2 separate regions of the Homo sapiens genome follow, and region 1 is linked to region 2. The links are contacts of gene promoters, found by promoter capture Hi-C in human tissues and cell types (Jung and others, 2019). All regions are on one chromosome and are shown on one strand. Each heading gives the region's core, a stretch centred on a gene start or on the middle of the fragment in contact. The rest is flanking DNA. Distances are from core to core; before and after follow the strand shown.

What was found. The method cuts DNA at HindIII sites, captures the fragments that hold promoters and counts their contacts. A contact is called where the count stands out against the background at its distance.
Region 1: a contact is called between a fragment that was not itself captured here and the fragment with the promoter of ZNF611 in region 2, in 2 of the 25 tissues and cell types used here (IMR-90 fibroblasts and bladder).

The regions. Positions count from the first base shown.
Region 1 is chr19:52,796,367-52,803,033 of GRCh38, reverse strand. ZNF28 (zinc finger protein 28) reads left to right here. Exons shown (of 4, transcript NM_006969.5): 4 at 1,332-5,626. The coding sequence ends at 3,346. It also overlaps a transcript of ZNF600 not described here. Among named protein-coding and RNA genes, the nearest start is that of ZNF600, 13 kb to the right of the region's middle. The HindIII fragment of the contact is 4,514 bases long and covers 328-4,841 here.
Region 2 is chr19:52,732,826-52,739,418 of GRCh38, reverse strand. It overlaps ZNF611 (zinc finger protein 611), which reads left to right and starts at 4,375. Exons shown (of 6, transcript NM_001161499.2): 1 at 4,375-4,418. It overlaps LOC124904760 (a long non-coding RNA gene), which reads right to left and starts at 5,388. Exons shown (of 2, transcript XR_007067328.1): 1 at 4,959-5,388; 2 at 3,715-4,625. RefSeq lists enhancers at 3,960-4,089, 3,402-4,387 and a silencer at 4,270-4,339. The HindIII fragment of the contact is 18,911 bases long and covers 205-6,593 here.

The DNA.
Region 1 (6,667 bases), core at 1,335-3,834, 65 kb before region 2:
ATCCCAGCACTTTGGGAGGCTGAGGCAAGGGGATCACAAGGTCAGGAGATCGAGACCATCCTGGCTAACACAGTGAAACCCTGTCTCTACTAAAAATACAAAAAAGTTAGCTGGACATGGCGGTGTGTGCCTGTAGTCCAAGCTGCTGGGGAGGCTGAGGCAGGAGAATGGCGTGAACCCGGGAGGTGGAGCTTGCAGTGAGCCGAGATCATGCCACTGCACTCCAGCCTGGGCGACAGAGCAAGATTTCGTCGCAAAAAAAAAAAAAAAAAGTCACAACGTGCCTGTTCCACATGGATATAGGTAATTTTGTAACAGTTATTTGGAAAAATATGGTATTAACATTTTCCTTTTTTTGAGATGGAGTCTCACTCTGTCATCCAGGGTGGAGTGCAGTGGTGCGATCTCAACTCACCACAATCTTTGCCTCCCAAGTTCAAGCGATTATCCTGACTCAGCCTCCCAAGTAGCTGGGATTACAGGCACCTGTGACCATGCCAGCTACTTTTTGTATTTTCAGTACAGATGGGGTTTTGCCACATTGGCCAGGCTGGTCAAACTCCTGACGTGAGGTGATCTGCCTGCCTTGCCCTCTAGAAGTACTGGGATTACAGGCATGAGCCACCATGCCCTGCCTTTTTTTGTTGTTTGTTTTTTTGTTTTTTTGAGATGGAGGCTCATTTTGTCACCTGGGCTGGAGTGCAGTGGTGTAATATTGGCTTACAGCAACCTTTGCCTTTGGCTTAACGCAATTCTTGTGACACAGCCTTCAGAGTAGCTGTGAGTACAGGCACGGGCCACCATACCTGGCTAATTTTTATAATCTTTTGTTATCTTGTCAGTGCTATGATTGTTTGACAATACAGAATTTCCATTGATTTTGGTTATCCTTACAACAGCTTGTTTTGGATTATTTACCAATATAGTATATTGTGTGGTTCTTTAGCATTTATTTGTATACACTAAATACGCTGTAAATATGAAGAATATATATTTTTCTTTTTTTGATGTGATAGTGATGTGTTTTTTGCAAAGTGTGATACACTTTAGGGTCACAGTGGAAAAACACTCCTTACTTTAGGCTCACACATGTTTGTGCCCTGTCAGTGTTTTGTCATGATATAGGAAATAGACTTTCATGGAATTGATTTGAAAGACATATAATCGCCCTTTATTTATTAAAGAATCTTACTCCTTTTGTGTTCTTAAACTTTGAAGATCATGTTTGGGAAGTTTAAAATAAGTATTGTTTTTTGTGTCATATTTACACATTTCAGTATTATACACCATCTGTACTTCATTGGAAACCTATTGGTGTTTATATTTTGTAGATATCTCTTCCAAATGCATGATGAAGACATTCTTCTCAACAGGGCAAGGCAATACAGAAGCGTTCCACACAGGGACATTGCAAAGACAAGCAAGTCATCACATTGGAGATTTTTGCTTCCAGAAAATTGAGAAAGACATTCATGGCTTCCAGTTTCAGTGGAAAGAAGATGAAACAAATGACCATGCAGCACCCATGACAGAAATCAAAGAGTTGACTGGTAGTACAGGCCAACATGATCAAAGGCATGCTGGAAACAAGCATATTAAAGATCAGCTTGGATTAAGCTTTCATTCGCATCTGCCTGAACTGCACATATTTCAGCCTGAAGGGAAAATTGGTAATCAAGTTGAGAAGTCTATCAACAATGCTTCCTCAGTTTCAACATCCCAAAGAATTTGTTGTAGGCCCAAAACCCATATTTCTAATAAGTATGGAAATAATTCCCTCCATTCTTCATTACTCACACAAAAACGGAATGTACACATGAGAGAAAAATCTTTCCAATGTATTGAGAGTGGCAAATCCTTTAATTGTAGCTCACTTTTAAAAAAACATCAGATAACCCACTTAGAAGAGAAACAATGTAAATGTGATGTATATGGCAAGGTATTTAATCAGAAGCGATACCTTGCATGCCATCGTAGATCTCACATTGATGAGAAACCTTACAAGTGTAATGAGTGTGGCAAGATCTTTGGTCACAATACATCCCTCTTCCTTCACAAGGCGCTTCATACTGCAGACAAACCTTATGAATGTGAAGAATGTGACAAAGTTTTCAGTCGCAAATCACACCTTGAAACACATAAGATAATTTATACTGGAGGGAAACCATACAAATGTAAGGTTTGTGACAAAGCTTTCACATGTAATTCATACCTAGCAAAACATACTATAATTCACACTGGAGAGAAACCTTACAAGTGTAATGAATGTGGCAAGGTTTTTAATCGACTGTCAACCCTTGCACGCCATCGTAGGCTTCATACTGGAGAGAAACCTTATGAATGTGAAGAATGTGAAAAAGTTTTCAGTCGCAAATCACATCTTGAAAGACATAAGAGGATTCATACTGGAGAGAAACCATACAAATGTAAGGTTTGTGACAAGGCTTTTGCATATAATTCATACCTGGCAAAACATAGTATAATTCACACTGGAGAGAAGCCTTACAAGTGTAATGAATGTGGCAAGGTTTTTAATCAACAATCAACTCTTGCACGCCATCATAGACTTCATACTGCAGAGAAACCATACAAATGTGAAGAATGTGACAAAGTTTTCAGGTGCAAATCACACCTTGAAAGACATAGGAGGATTCATACTGGAGAGAAACCATACAAATGTAAGGTTTGTGACAAGGCTTTCCGGAGTGATTCATGCCTTACAGAACATCAGAGAGTTCATACTGGAGAGAAACCATACATGTGTAATGAATGTGGCAAGGTTTTTAGTACAAAAGCAAACCTTGCATGTCATCATAAACTTCATACTGCAGAGAAACCGTACAAATGTGAAGAATGTGAGAAAGTTTTCAGTCGCAAATCACACATGGAAAGACATAGGAGGATTCATACTGGAGAGAAACCGTACAAATGTAAGGTTTGTGACAAGGCTTTCCGGAGGGATTCACACCTGGCACAACATCAGAGAGTTCATACTGGAGAGAAACCTTACAAGTGTAATGAGTGTGGCAAGACCTTCCGTCAGACATCATCGCTTATAATCCATCGTAGGCTTCATACTGGAGAGAAACCTTACAAGTGTAATGAGTGTGGCAAGACCTTCAGTCAGATGTCATCCCTCGTATACCATCATAGGCTTCATAGTGGAGAGAAACCTTACAAGTGTAATGAATGTGGCAAGGTTTTTAATCAACAAGCACACCTTGCACAGCATCAGAGAGTTCATACTGGAGAGAAACCTTACAAGTGTAATGAGTGTGGCAAGACCTTCAGTCAGATGTCAAACCTTGTATACCATCATAGACTTCATAGTGGAGAGAAACCTTGAAAGTGTAATGAGTGTGGCAAGACCTTCAGTCAGATGTCAAACCTTGTATACCATCATAGACTTCATAGTGGAGAGAAACCTTAAAAGTGTAATGAGTGTGGCAACACCTTCCATCACAATTCAACCCTTGTAAGTCACAAAGCCATTCATACTGGAGAGAAACTTTACAAGTGTAATGAATGTGGCAAGGTTTTTAATCAAAAAACAACCCTTGCACGTCATCATAGAATTCATACTGCAGAGAAACTTTACAAATAGGAAGAATGTGACAAAGTTTTCGGTTGCAAATCAAACCTTGAAACACATAAGAAAATGCATGCTGAAGAGAAACCACACAGATGTAAGGTTTATGACAAGATTTTTGAATATAATTCATACCTGGCAAAACATATTAGAATTCAAACTGGAGAGAAACCTTACAAATGTGATGAGTGTGGCAACACCTTTGGTCAAAATTCATACCTTGTAATTCAAAAGGCAATTCGTATTGGAGAGAAACCCTACAAGTGTAATGAATGTGGCATAGTTTTTAATCAACAGTCACACCTTGCAAGTCATCATAGTCTTCATACTGCAGAGAAATCTTACAAATGTGAAGACTGTGACAAAGTTGTCAGTCACAAATCACAGCTTGAAAGACAGGAGAATTCATACTGGAGAAAAAACATACAAATGTAAGGTTTGTAACAAGGCTTTTGGGAGTGATTCACACCTGGCACACCATACTAGAATTCACACTGGAGAGAAACCTTACAAGTGCAATGAGTGTGGCAAAGCCTTTAGTGGGCAGTCACCACTTATTCACCATCAAGCAATCCATAGTATAGGGAAACTTGACTAATATAATGATTGTCACAAAGTTTTCAGTAATGCTACAACCATTGCAAATCATTGGAGAATCCATAATGAGAGATCTTACAAGTGTAATAAATGTGACAGATTTTTCAGATATCGTTCATATATTGCTATTCATCATCGAACTCATGCTGGAGAGAAACCTTATAAATGTCATGATTGTGGCAAGGTCTTCAGTCAAGTTTCATCCTATGCAAAACATAGGAGGATTCATACAGGAGAGAAACTCACAAGTGTGATGATTGTGGCAAAGCGTTTACTTCACATTCACACCTCAATAGACATCAGAGAATCCATGCTGGACAGAAATCTTACAAATGTCATCAGTGTGGTAAGGTCTTCAGTCCGAGATCACTCCTTGCAGACCATCAGACAATTCCTTTTGGAGACAGTTGTTTCAAATGCCATTAGTATAGCAAGCCATCAAGCATTAATTGACATTACAGTTAAATGAGCACTGACCTGAGTTTGAGTTGACTTAACATTGAGTTTAAGCATTAATTGACATTAAACTGTTTATGTTAAGAGGACTGGGCTGGGCACTGTGGCTCACGCCTGCAATGCCAGCACTTTGAGAGGCCAAGACTGGTAGGTCACTGGAGGTTAAGAGTTTGAGAACAGCCTGGCCAACAGACGGGAGCCACTTTTCCCAGCCTGTGTTTTCATTTCTATTCTTTCTTTCTTTTTTCTTTTTTTTGTTTTTGTTTTTGAGATGGAGTCTCTTGCTCTGTCATCCAGGTTGGAGTGCAGTGGCATGATCTTGACTCACTACAACCTCCGCCTCCCAGGTTCAAGCGATCCTCCTGCCTCAGTCTCCTGACTAGCTGGGACTACAGGTGCATGCCACCACACCTGGATAATTTTTTGTATTTTTAGTAGAGACTGGGTTTCGCTGTGTTAGCCTGGATGGTCTCGATTTTCTGATCTTATGATTCACCCACCTCTACCTCCCGAAGTGCTGAGATTATGGGCGTGAGCCACCGTGACTGGCCTGTTTTTTGTTTCTTTAACAAAAAGTTATGGGGATTTCTATGAGTATTGTGTTGAATCTAAATCACATTCGGTTATATAATCATTGAGCAATACTAATTTTTCCAATCAGTATGGATTGTATGTGTATTTATATGTTTTTAATCATTTTGATCAATGTTTGTAGATTTCAAGGTACAAACTTCTCACCTTTATATGTTTATTCCTAAATATTTCTTACTTTAAGCTCTTTAGCAAATGGAAGTGGTTTTTAATTTTATTTTAAAATTATTTAATGTTAATGTATGGAAATTCAACTAATTTTTGGTGCTATTATTCTATTCTGCAAATACACTGAATATGTTTATTAGTTCCAGTTGTATTTTGGTTGACTGTGATTTTCTTCACAGATCATGTCATCTACAAACAAATAAAATTTGACTTCTTTCTTTCTGATTTGGATGAGTTCGATTTCTATTGCTATTTCATTGTTCTGGCTGGGACAGCCAGCATTGATTGAATAGAAAGGGTGAGAGCATTCTTGCATCATGTGAGATCCTACAGGAAAAGCATTCCATTTTCCCTGATTGTTTATTTCCACTGTGGTCGTTTCATGGATTGTCTTTGTACTGTTGAGGTAAATTTCCTTCTCTAACTATTTTTGGTAGGATTTCCATGATGATGTTGAATTTTGTGAAATGCTTTTTCTACATGTATTGAGATGATGTGGTTTTCATCTTTCATTATGTTCAAGTGGTATATCACATTGATTTGCTTGAATATGTTGAACCATCCTTGTATCTCAGAAATAAGTGGCACTTGCATATCTACAATCCTTTTTATATCCTCTTGAATACAGTTTGCTAGTACAAGGGGTCTTCACGAAGTTCATGAAAAAATACATGTTATGAGAAAATTGTGCATGATGTCACATTTTTTGCACCAAAATAAAATGGTACAAATCTGTTATAACATGTCTGAACAGGGTCTAGTTTGAGGCACTCAGAAGGGTAAAATCAGTTTGAAAAGAGACTCAATCAAAGCAATGTAAATTCTGCTAAAATTGAAACAAGAAGAAATATCAAATTTGCGATGAGACCAGATGCAGTGGCTCAGGCCTGTAATACCAGCACTTTCAGAGGTTGAGACAGCTGGGTCATGTGAGCCCCGGTATTCAAGACCAGCCTGGACAGAATGGTGAAACCCCTGTCTCCACAAAAAATACAAAAATTAGCTGGGCATGGTGGCACATGTCTGCTGGTTCAGCTTCTGTGGAGACTGCATTGGGAGGATGGCTTGAGCCTGGGAGGTAGAGGCTGCAGGGAGCCGTGATCATGCCACTGTACTCCAGTCTAAGACGTAAGTGACTATTCCTCCTCCCGCTCTCACATATAAATTGTGTATTTAGTGAAAGGCTGATCAAAGACTCAAAGAATGTGATCATTTGTTATCTACCTGTGACCCGGAAGCCCCCCAATTCCAGTTATTCCACCTTTC
Region 2 (6,593 bases), core at 3,126-5,625:
CGTCCTGCAGGCGGGGCAAGCTCCCCTCAGGCTGGGACAGGTTGGGGTACAGGGGCAGGTACCTCGGTAAAGGGGTGGAGTGGGGCGCTGCTTACAACGGGGACTGATAATTTGAATGGCTTAGTAAACCAAGCAAGGTCCTGGGTTGTTTGAGCGGATAATGAAAGTAGAAAGGTGACATATAGAACTGCCTATTATACACAGAAGGTGGAAGAAAATTTCTTATTTCATGGAAATAAAGCCAGAACTCCGAGCGGTGGGTCACACCTGTCATCCCAGCACTTTGAGAGGCCAATGCCGGAGGATTGCTTGAGCCCAGGAGTGTGTGATCAGCCTGAGCAACATAGTGAGACCTCGTCTCTACTAAAAATAAAAAAACTCAGCCAGGTGTGGTGGTGCACACCTGTGTTCTCGGCTGCTTTGGGCACTGAGATTGAAACATCACTTGAGCCAGGGAGTTGGACGCTGCACTGATCCCTGATCTCACTAGCACACTCTAACCTGGATGACAGAGCTGGACCCTGTCTCAAACAAACAAGCAAATAAGTGAGAGGCATAATTCCTCCTTCGAAAATAAAGTAAGAGATTTTCTTTCCTGTAGACTCTTTTCTTAGGACATTTATTTAGAAAATGTGTAAATGAATTTTCTCTGTCTTCTGAAACAGTATTTTTTTTTTTTTGAGATGGAGTTTCGCTCTTGTAGCCCACGCTGGAGTGGAATGGCGTGATCTCCGCTCGCGGCATCCTCTGTCTCCCAGGTTCAAGAGATTCTCCTGCCTCAGCTTCCCGAGTAGCTGGGATTGCAGGCATGTGCCACCATGCCCAGTTAATTTCGTATTTTTAATAGAGAAGGGTTTTTTCCATGTTGGTCAGGCTGGCCTCAAACTACGACCTCAGGCGATCCGCCCGCCTCTGCCTCCCAAAGTGCTGGGATTACAGGCGTGAGCCACCGCGCTCGGACAGAAATGGAATTTTTTTAGAAACTAACTAAACCGCTTTTTAGCTTAATGACCCAGGAATGTATTTCCGAAGGACTTGGGAGCTCTGTCTGAAAGGCAAACAACAGAGATAGCACTTGTGTCTCAGTAGGAAATTAAGTAATTCAAATATCAAGTGATTCCAATTTAAAGCCATGGACCTTTAAATAATTCTGAGCCTTGAGAGGAATGTGGTCATGCAACCTGAGTTCAGAGGAATGCAGGCGCAACTTCTAGGAGTTTTTCTGTAAATAATTTGGAAAACTGGCCGTGAACAGTGGGTCACGCCTGTCATCCCAGCACTTTGGGAGACTGATTCTGGCAGATCACGAGGTCAAGAGATAGAGATTATACTGGCCAACATGGTGAAATCTCATCCCTAAAAAAAATACAAAAATCAGCTGGGCATGTTGGTGCTTGCCTGTAGTACCATCTATTCGGGAGGCTGAGCCACGAGAATTACTTGAACCAGGGAGTCGGAGGTTGCAGTGAGCCGAGATTGCACCACTGCACTCCAGCCTGGTGACAGAGCGAGACTCCATCTCAAAATAAATAAATAAATAACAATAACAATAAAAAAATTAGGAAGACTACAGAGCCCCAGTGATAAGACCTCCTCAGAGCATTGTCCCTTCTTATGTAATGATAAAGTAACTTTCCTTGAAGTGTATCAAATCATCACCAGTCAAGTTGCTGCAGCCTGTGCACTGGTCTTGAATGGAAAGTGTGGTGATTCTGCTAAAGCTTCTCTGTCTTTCCCTGTGTGTGAAACCTTAACGTCTCTACTTGGGAACGCTGATCCCATTCATTTGGAGTTGATGTTTCCAGGTGGCTTTCTTCAAGCTCTGTGTTCACATTAACTCTGTACTTAATCATATACTTTAAATTTTATTATTTACTGCTGACATCAGTGTCTGTCGTATGGTAGGAGCCTCACCAGAGAGGGCACCTGTCGCCATGTTGTAAAACTCACACTTGCCAAAAAGACATGGGTTAGAGTTTCTCCCCCTCCCTCAGGATGACGCTAGTTAGCTGACACAGATGGTCACCTCCATTACCAAGTAGAGCCAGGATGAACTATGTGTGACCAAGGGTGTTGTCAAGTCCTCTTCCTTGAGGACTGATTAGTATTTATCTTGAAAATATGTCCTTAATGGGTTGTATAGAACAGTGAAGTTTCTTTCTCTCTTTTCAATCTTTTAGCTGTTTGCCTCTATTTCCCATCACATTCTGGTCTAAGGTTTATTTATTAATAAAATGGTTTTTATTTCTTTCTCTGTTATCGTCGTGGAGATGATTTCTCATTTGGGAGGAGACTTTTTAGTTTTCAGTTATATTTTGTCAACATTTAAAAAGCGAAGCAAAGAATATTTCTGCGGCATGGCACGGTGGCTCACGCCTGTAATCTCAGCAGTTTGGGAGGCGGAGGCGGGTGGATCACGAGGTCTAGAGATCGAGACCATCCTGGCCAACATGGTGAAACACCGTCTCTACTAAAAAAAAATACAAAAAAAAAAAAACCCAAAAAAATTAGCCAGGCGTGGTAGCGGGAGCCTGTGGTCCCAGCTACTCCGGAGGCTGAGGCAGGAGAATGGCGTGAACCCGGGAGGCGGAGCTTGCAGTGAGTCGAGATTGCGCCACTGCACTCCAGCCTGGGCGACAGAGTGAGACTCCGTTTAAAAAAAAAAAAAAAAAAAAAAAGAATATTTCTGGCCGGGCGCGGTGGCTCACGCCTGTAATCCCAGCACTTTGGGAGGCCGACGCGGGCGGATCACAAGGTCAGGAGATAGAGACCGTCCTGGCTAACTCGATGAAATCCCATCTCTACTAAAAATACAAAAAATTAGCCAGGCATGTTGGCTCACGCCGTAACCCCAGCACTTTAGGAGGCTGAGGCAGGCAAATAACTTGGAGTGAGGAGTCCGATACCGGCCTGGTCAACATGGTCAACCCCGTCTCTACTAAAAATACAAAAATTAGCCTGGCATGGTGGCGCACGCCTGTAATGCCAGCTGTTCCCAAGGCTGGGGCAGGAGAATCGCTTGAACCCAGGAGGCAGAGGATGCATTTAGTCGAGATCTCGCCACTGCACTCCAGCCTGGGCAACAGAGAAATACTCTGTCTCAAAAATAATAATAATAATAATAATAATAATAATAATAATACAAGAAAGTAATAGATCTCTTCCATAAATGTGCTAGGACAACTATCTGGATATCCACATGGAAAAGAATAATGTTGGATCCCTATGTCACACAATCAAAAATTTTATTTGCGAAAGTTTTTTTTAAAAAAAAAGAGAGAGAGAGAGACAAGAAAGGGAGACCGCGGCAGTGGGCGTTATTTTGTCGCTCAGGCTGGCTTGGAACCCGAGGCTCAGGGATCCTCCCGCCGCTGCTTCCTGAGTAGCTGGGACCTCAGGCTCCCGCCCCCGCGCCTCTGCTGTCTTTAAGCAGCAGGTGGTGACCTCACTCCTTCTCGGCCTGAGCACTCCGTCCGGCATTCCAGGCGGTGGCTTCAGGGAAGTCTCTGAAGCTGAGCACAGGGCGGAGTCTCCTTCCGGAGTGAATGGACAATAGAAAGGGAGAGGATATCTATCTGTTCTGTGGGACCTCAGCATGACATGGTACATACCGCCCAGGCAGGGCTTTGCATTTCACATTCTAGTTTGTATCCCTGTTCCAGACAATTACAGTGTAGCAGGACGAGTCGCAGACAAAACCTCTCAGACACCGAGTTGTAGAAGGAAGGGCTTTATTCAGCTGGGAGCATTGGCAAGCTACTGCCTTAAAATCCAAGCTCCCCGAGTGCACAATTTCTGTCCCTTTTAAGGGCTCACAACACTAAAGATTTCAGATGAAAGGATAGTGACTGATTGAGCAAGCAAGGGATACGTGACAGGGGCTGCATGCACCGGTGATCAGGGAGAGAGAGAACAGGGCAGGAGTTTCACCGTGTTCTTCTATACAATGTCTGGAATCTATGCCTAACATCAGCTTCTAAATCATAAGTTGATTTTTAACTACTGGGTTTAGGCCAGGCGGATCCAGGCCTGGTTTCGGGCCTGGCGCGGGGCTGCCTGTCTTTGGTTTTACTTCCTGTTGTTTTTACTGACTATAAAACAATATAAAACAATGTCAGAGGGTCTCTCTCTTCTCTCAACAGGGCTTTTGTATCATGCCTCAGACTTTCTGGCGCTCTCGCCTCCAAAACCTGAAAACAGAGACGCTGGGAGCGAGGCTGAGAGACGCGCAGATCCCGCCCCGGCCCTGCCCTCTGCCGGTTCTAAAAGGCAAGGTCTCTCCGCCTCGCGCCCCGCCCCTACCTCGCCCAGGCCCCGCCTACCTCCCACTTCCCGCCCAGGCCTGGCTTTTGTCCTGCGCGCGCAGATTAACGCAAACCCGGAAGCGGATCGGGTGGAGTGTAGGTCATATCGCCGCGGTGAGTTTTGCTCTGTGTTGTATTAAGTCTGCGCTAACTAGGTTCCCAGGGCTTCTGTCCCTGGGACGTGGGGTCCCCACAGACCTGGAAATTCTCCGGCGTCTTCCTTTGCCCAGAGCAAATTGAGACATCCCCGTGAGAGCCCGAGGGTCGCTTCCTTTTGGGTTTAAAGTCGTCCTGAGGCTGGTCTCGTCCCCGGTCTTTCTGCTATAGGTCAATGTATACACTTTCTGTTGCGTAGTTTTCCTGCTGAAAACCTTGTTCTGACTCCTCGCGCCCCGCGCTTTTTAAAGTCTTCACCCGCGATGTGGATTCTTGCCCAGGGCGCCTCCCAGCCTCCCCCTCCTCAGCCCCGGGAGCGCCGCGCCGCAGCCCCAGTCCCGGGGAGGCCGAGTCCTCTGCCAGGTCCTGGGATCCTGCAGACCCCATCCTGGTCCTAAGGCGCCGTCGCGCCCCCCCCCCCCGCCCCGCACCTTCCTCCTCATGCCGGGGCCTGCTGCTCCCCAGGTCTCCCCTCCGCAGTCACCGCTTTCATTGAACCTGCACTGGGGAGGTCCCAGGGGCCTGTCCTGCGGCACGGGGTATTCTTGCCTGCGGAGCTCCAGGGCGTGGAAAATGCGCTCCTCCGGGATGCAGGCGTCTTACTCCAAACCGTGTTGCGATTGTGTGGGCCAAAGGAATCAGGAGACAGAGAGCAGTAGAAAACCTGAGGCAGAGAAAAGAAGAATAAGAAAGGCCCATAACAGATGGCAAAATAGAGGATTGGTGAGGGATATGCCAAGAGATGGCAGAAGTGAAAAAAAAAAAAAAAAACCTAAGAAAGCAGGAGGAGAAAAGCAACCGGAGAAATGTAGAGAAAGGCTAGATAGATGTACAGAGAGATGAAGGATCACAAGGTAGGGGGAGTGGCAGCAAAGAGGGAGACTCATCAGAGTGAGGGAGAGAGGGAAGGATTTGGAGCCAGGGCAGACAGAGCAGAGTGGTGCTTGTGTCAAGGAGAACAGAGGGAGAACCACAGCAGAGAGGACAGCTGGGATCTGGGGAGACACAGAGTGGGGACAAGGGAGTATATCGGGGAAGATGGAATTTAACAGGGAGAGCAGAGGAGGCGCAGAGATGGGAGAAGAGGCAGAAATAGATGGAGATTGAGGACGATTGAAAGATTGGGGAGAAGGAGCAATAAGAGGTTAAATAAGTTGTGAGGATGGAGGAGAAGAGGTGGAAGAGAAGGAATAAAGGGAAGAAGGGGATGAATAGCAGGAGAGGAGAGGGGTACAAAATGAAGAGCAGAATCCCAGGGAAAAAGAAAAGAAAACAAGAGCTAGAGAGAGAAGGGGAGAATGAGAGATATGTACAGAATTAGGGAGGGAAGCACAGTAATGAAGAAAGAGGGTCTGGACACAGTGGCTCACGCCTGTAGTCTGTAGTCTCCACACTTTAGGAGACTGAGGCAAGGGGATTGCTTGAGTCCAGGAGTTCGAGACCAGCTTGGGCAACATAGTGAGACCTCCCCCCCGCCAAAAAAGTAAGTAAATAACCGGGCATAATGGTGTGCACCTGTACTCCCAGCTGCTCTGGTGGCCAAGCTGGGAGGATGACTTGAGCCCAGGAGGTCCAGGCTGCAGTGAGCTGAGATCATGTGACTACACTGCAGCCTGGTCGTCAGAGCGAGACCTTGTCTCCAAACAAAAAAAAAGGGGCGAGAGACTGGGTTCAGATGAGTGGGTGAGTTCATTGGATATGATTGGTTGTGACATGTTGAGTTCTGTATATATAATCTAATAACTAAAAACTTGTTTAAATTACACAGATGAGATTGAGAATTTTAAAATTCGTATCTATAAGACATGTACATTCTATAAATCTTGGCATCAGAGGTTATGTTCCACTTGGAATCCCTATTTGCCAGAGGGCAGTCACTTATTCAGTTGTGAATCACTGTCTCCCCTTTTCCTAGGATGGGGTAGGACGTGGGTCAGTGAAGTGGGAAAATAGTCACTGTCTGTTGTTACAAAATACATTTAATTAATTAATTAATTAATATTTTGAGACAGGGTCTGACTCTATCACCCAGGCTGGTGTGCAGTGGCGTGATCTCCTCTAACTGCAGCCTCGACCTCTTAAGTTCAAGCCATCCTCCTTCCTCAGCCTTCTGAGTAGCTGAGACCAGAGGCA